Regions from separate parts of the Homo sapiens genome. Here region 1 is linked to region 2. Evidence: promoter capture Hi-C in human tissues and cell types (Jung and others, 2019). All regions are on one chromosome and are shown on one strand. Each heading gives the region's core, a stretch centred on a gene start or on the middle of the fragment in contact. The rest is flanking DNA. Distances are from core to core; before and after follow the strand shown.

Evidence for each region. The method cuts DNA at HindIII sites, captures the fragments that hold promoters and counts their contacts. A contact is called where the count stands out against the background at its distance.
Region 1: a fragment that was not itself captured here is called in contact with the fragment with the promoter of CCBE1 in region 2 in 5 of the 25 tissues and cell types used here (IMR-90 fibroblasts, adrenal gland, bladder and 2 more).

The regions. Positions count from the first base shown.
Region 1 is chr18:59,649,513-59,652,698 of GRCh38, forward strand. The region is part of intron 2 of CCBE1 (collagen and calcium binding EGF domains 1); the gene reads right to left. Among named protein-coding and RNA genes, the nearest start is that of CCBE1, 46 kb to the right of the region's middle. The HindIII fragment of the contact is 5,358 bases long and covers 1-3,186 here.
Region 2 is chr18:59,695,920-59,698,740 of GRCh38, forward strand. It overlaps CCBE1 (collagen and calcium binding EGF domains 1), which reads right to left and starts at 1,504. Exons shown (of 11, transcript NM_133459.4): 1 at 1,293-1,504; 2 at 710-790. The coding sequence starts at 1,423. The HindIII fragment of the contact is 11,314 bases long and covers 1-2,821 here.

The DNA.
Region 1 (3,186 bases), core at 551-3,050, 46 kb before region 2:
ACAGATCAACTACATCATTCTCACAGCCAGTGTTACAGATGCAGAAATAGCCTCAGAGATGTCAAGGCAAGGACCCTCTGCCTACACTTTAGCAAGGGACAGAATGTGGATTCCCATTCCTCATTCTTGCTGAATCCAAAGCCCATGCTCTTTCAAATGTAACATCTTGCCATCTCAGGCTGCTGTTGGACTGTAATAGTAACCTATGCCCTTTTCATTCCTGTCTCACAACACAAAAGTAAAAGTGGGGGTGGATGAATGCAAGCAGCCCACATGCTCCAGCACTCACAGAGCTCATGTTACGGGCTGGGGCCATCCCAGTTTAGGTGCTGACACTCCAAGAGTCACTAGGCTGGGGCTCTGGCCTGGAGCTCTGAGCCTTGGGGTCCCACTGACCAGAAATGACCATGGAAGAGCATCTTCAAGGGGCACATGGGAAAGGAGGGAGGGGTCCCAGACAGGCCTTCCCCACTTGTTTTAGTGGCACTTGGGGGTGGGGGAGCACAGGTGAGCCATCTCCACCCAGCTGGGAGCCACCCTCCAAAGTCCGCTCTCCTTCCTCCACTTGGTTCCCAGCTTCAAGGCCACAGGTGTGACTTCAAATATGGCAGAATCCACAGACAGAACTAATTTTCAGAAGCTTCTGCTCACAGAACCATAATTATTCTCAGAATCATAAGAGGGAACTGTTTCTTTTAAAAATAAATAAACAGATATACAGCACTAAGGCAGTTTCCATTGTCCACCCCTGCCCAGATACAAAGTCAGGTGAGATGGGAGAGACCAAGCCCAGCACACCCAAAAAGCAGCATCCAAGCTCTCCACTCCAAGCAGAAGAGGCTCCAGACCTCTAGAGTGACCCCCTTCCTCCCTAGGTTCCTCCATGTAATGACATTTAGCCTCCTGTTCCCTTCAGCTTTTCACGATCCCATGGGAAACTCCCAACGTGACTGGGTTCAGAAAGTCTGGCGCGTTAAAAGGTACCTAATCCTGTTAGTGTGCGGGATAATCGTTTCAGAGAAGACCTCAGCACCAGCTTATACTAAGTGCAATTTCCTCTGAAGTTATTATCCCAGCCGGAATTTGAATTGTAAAGTATTTCTGATGCCCTGGGAAAGCTCACCACGCATTCCAGAACCGCACTTCTCCCTCTAAGTCTCTCTCTGCTTGGAATTTACAGCCGCCTCTTCTGGTTACCAAACATCTTTATTCATCATGAATTTCTCCACTCTCACTGCCTTGCATGTTGTACTGGAGAACAAGCCCATCCTCCCTACCGATCCTGTACCTGGGCAAGGGGCTCTGAAGTTGGAAATAGGCTTAGTCCTCGGTGGCCAAGCAGAAGCAGGAACAGATGAGTGATAAGGAAACAAAGATTCCTTTCCTGGCCTGTATGCCAGGGAAAATGGAGAGGAACATCATCCACATAGCTTCAAGACAGACAGACTGTGGCATAGCCTGAGAAACTCCATCACTTAGGGGTCAAGGTAAATAGCTGAAGTTTATTAAGAACTAACCTTTTCCTCGCCACAGCCAGCTAATCAACTTGGATATAGGGTGGGATTTCTTAATATCATCCAAAATTGTGATGACTTTTTACCCAATTCCCTTTCTTCAAAGGTATGAATAGAAGCAACAAGCCTAAGCTATAGAAAGATAAGAACCTAGGATCTCACCAATTACAATGTGTTCCAGGGAAAATACGTTCTACTTACTTAGGAAGTGTTCCTTGGCACCATGAAGCAAGTTGACACACATGAGTTGTTGCAGGCACTGGGGTTTCCTGCCCCAGTTCTTGCTGGCATTGGAAAATGAGCGTCCATACCACCGGGTTATGGGAACAAAACCAGGCAATTCTGAATGGAAAACTACCACCACCTTTTTGGGACAGGTTTTTAAACGAGACTGCATGCCAAACGCTGGTTCATCCTCTTGGGCTCAGTTTAGCTCCTTTTTCTGTGAGGGATTAGGCTGGCAGTCATTCACAGAACTAAATCAAGATTTTTCTGCACTATTAGTTTCCTTCTGAGAATCAAAGAATGTGTTAGCTATGGCTCAGCAGACCTTAGCAAGGATCTTTCCTGAGATGGAACGTGATTGACAGGGAATGAGTTAATCTTCTGCAGCTCTAAATATGGCATTTTTCTAGGCAAGACCGTCAGAGAAAAGGACATGCTCCATCTACAAATAAAGTAGAACTAGTGATGTGGCGGTGTGTCTTCAAACTCCAGAGAAAGGCACTGGGCCCCACCTTGTAGTTCATGTAAATATCAGTCCTGGGAAAGGGAAGTGGAAAGCCAGTGCTTTTTGTGAAAGTGTATGTGGTACATGAGAATTTTTTTACACATATACAGTGTGTAGCAATCAAGTCAGTGTATTCAGGGTGTCCATTATCAAGATACAATACATCTTTGTTAAGTATAGTCATCCTGCTCTGCTATCAATCATTGAATTTATTCCTTCTATCTTACTGTATGTTTTTAATCTTTAACCCATTTCTTTTCATCCTTCCCTCTCCCACCCTTCCCAGTCTCTTATTTTTCCACTCTATCATCTGTTCAAATTTTTGTTTAGCTCCTAAATGTGAATGCGAACATGTGATATTTGTCTTTTTGTTCCTGGCTTATTTCATTTAACACAATGACCTCCAGTTTCATCCAAGTTACTGCAAATGGCAGGATTTCATTTTGATGGCTGAATAGTATTCCATTTCACTTACATACTACACCTTTCTTTAAAAATCTCAGCCTTGGAATCGAAGAATCAAGAAAAACTCAGCCAACTCATGGGTTACACAAGTTGAGGATGCCACCTGATTATCAACAGGTACTGCTCATCAATAGCACCGTTGGGACTCTGCCACTTAGGCAGGGACCAGCCTGAGCCCAAAGGTGAATGGGGTAAATTCCTCCAGTTCCTTCGGCATGGTTTGTAGGATCAGTAAAGGTAACACAAACTGACTCCCCCCCTTTTTTTTTAATGTAAACTCCATAGCCTAGAATAAAATACTATAAATTTAAGAAAGCTTAGGTCTATAAAACTAACATTTTATAACAATGAAGAGAAAGAAAGAGGAGAAGCAGCTACCACTGTGAGAGAGCACTCGGAGTCCCGCTCAGACTCAGAGCCAAATGGGAAAGACATTTTTCCCAGCTAAAGAAAGGATTTTCGGCCGGGCGCAGTGGC
Region 2 (2,821 bases), core at 254-2,753:
CTAAATCAACCCTCATCTCCAAAAGGCTGCAAGCAGAACAGTGGTTCTCTCCTTTCAGAGACAAGAACCACCTGGGGAACATTTTATAACTACCGATTCCCTAGCCCCATCCACGCTTAGTTTTAACAAGCACCCGGGTCACTCATTTAACAAATACCCAGGTGAATCTGTGGCCCACATTTTTAGAAAGACTTTTTTCCTCTGCCCCAACAATCTTTTTGTTTTCACTCAACACAACCACTCACAATCCTCCCCCTACTTTTTTGTCCAGAGGCCGTGACAGCCACACTCTGCCCCAACAGAAGGTCAGAAGACAGACAAGTGCCAAGAATTGCCTTGTTGACGCTGTACTTTCAAAACAAAACACAAATACGAAAGCAGCCACCCGTGTTTGCTATGCCCCACTGTTTACACCCAAAATCCAATCCAATCTCCTTCACAGACTTCCACACAAGTATTTCAGGGAGCGGCAACCATCCTCAGGATCTCAGGGCACACACCCTAGACGCAAAGTCAGTTGCTCAGTGTTGCTCTGACTCCGATCCAACCAACCCTCAAAGATTCGCACCGCGCGGCACGCACCCAGCAGGTTCCAGCGTAAAAGCTGCTCCGGTCCCAAGCGCGTCTCCAAACCCCTCCTTTACAGCGCCGCCTCCCCAGCCAGCCCCGGTGCGCAGTGGCGAACAGCCCGCAGAGCCCCCAGGCTTACCTGTAGCATGTGGTGAGCTCGCCTGAAGACTTCAGACACGGGTATTTAGTCGTCGCGATTTTGCTCTCTGAGCAGATTTCTCTATGAAAAAGTGCAGAGGAAATGTTCGATTCTCAGCGGGAGAGCGGAGGCGGGCAGCGCGCGCTGGGGAATCCCTGGCGCGTGGGGATCGCCAGGCTCCCCGTCCCGGCGCTCTGGGCAGGGGCTGGTCCCCAAACGCGTACGCGGGGCAGACTCCGGCCACAGGGACGAGCCACGCGAGGGTCACGACGAAGCGAACCAGCTCCAGGAGAAAGGAAGCGGGGTTCACGAGCTGTGCCAGCCAGTGTGGCACCCGGGGGGAGGCAGGAACGCGGGGCGAAGGGTATCCCTGACGCGACCCACGGATGGCAGGGCGCAAAGGCTGATACCCGGGAGCGGAGGGAAGTGTCGCCCAGGACAGCTGAGCACTCTCCTTATCCCCGGAGAAGTGAGGGCGTGCGGATCGCTGTGGGAGTGGGCGCCGGGGAGGACCGCCCGCACCCCGCGAGCCGGGCGCGCATCAAGCAGGAGCTCGCCCTCCGCTGGGGCTTGCAGCGCTTACCTGTCGCCGTCCTCCGGCTCCTCTCTGTAGGTCCACGTGTGTCCCAACGCCAGGAGCAGCAGCAGCGGACCCAGGCTCCTGCCCAGCTGGCCCCTGGCAGCTCCTCCCCGGCTCGGAGGCGGCGGCACCATCAGGGAAGCTCCCGGCTTCTTCCCAGCGCCGAGCTCCGTCCGGACCAAGCGTCCTGCTCCTCCGCGGCCGCCGCCGCCTTCCCTCTTCCCGGCAGGGGGCGCCGGAGAGCAGGGGCGTTTGCACCACCTGCACGGGGAGCAGGGGTCCGGAATATTATGGGGCTGGGGGGAAAATGAGGCTAGGAGTTGGGGTATCGGATGCAAACCCAGCAGAGAAGCAGGTAAAGGGGGTACCTGCGGTGTCCGGCTGGCGCGAGGGCCCTGAGGTTCAAGTTGTCTCGTCGGGACGTTCACGTCCGATTGACAGACTTGCTGGACTCGGCTTGGGGCTGCGCCCTCGCCTCTTCCCTCTCCCTCCTCTGGGAGAAGCGCGCAGGGTGGGGAAAGCGGGCGGTTGTTTGCATTTTGCACCAGGGTCTCACGACCGGGAGGAGGAGGAGCTGATTCTCCACCGGGGAGAAGAGGGAGGGGGAAGAGAGGGGTTAATAAGCTTCCTTCCTGTTGTCCATGGGTTTCTAAAGCCCAGGGTCAGGCCAGTGTTCGTCTTTCCTCCGTGAGGACCTACCCTGAGATTTGCAACTATCTTAGTCTTCTTTTCTCTTAGATTATGTGAGGAAGGAGGAGTTGAAAGGCTACAACGGGCCTCTCAAATTGTTCAAACCTGAAATAGCGCTATTTATATAGTGTAATCACTCTTCCTTAAAACCTTTAGAAGAAAGTTCTCTGGTTGTTTCATTGGTCAATAAACCATGCGCTGTCTTCTTCATAACTCGAGTTCGGAACAAGTAAGGAGGTCTTTCTGGGAGCCTTACATCTCCTTGTCCTGAGCGGCTTTAATACTGTTTCCACGCCGCGCACATCAGAGCTGGAAACGCCCCCCCCCATCAAATGAGACACGTGGGGGCAAATTAATTACAGGTGCTGCTACCTGCTAGTGTATGCAGCCGCGTTGATAGGTAACAAGAAAACGGAGGAGGGGGGCCGTAAATCGGCTCCCTTGACGGTGACCCTAATTGTAATTCGTGTGTCAGCAACTTAACACTTTGTTGCGCTTTAGGAGTTTTCTCAGCCTTTTCCAGAGAAACTGGGGACGTGGATGTGGCCCAGAAATAAGTTGAAAAAGGAAAAGTTCTAATGCCTAAGCTCTAAAATATGCGTGGTTCTGCATCTCACAGGACAACGAGGTAAAAAGGTGGCTTGTTCACAAGTGACCGGTGTGTAAATTGGTTAGGTAAGCACATATTTTGATATACAGAATATGCTGGTCAACTGAGAATTACCACACATATCACATACACATTGACTTTTTTTTTTTTTTGAGACGGAGTCTCACTCTGTCGCCCAGGCTGGAGTGCAGTGTCTCGATCTTGGCTCACTGCAACCTCCGCCTGCCGGGTT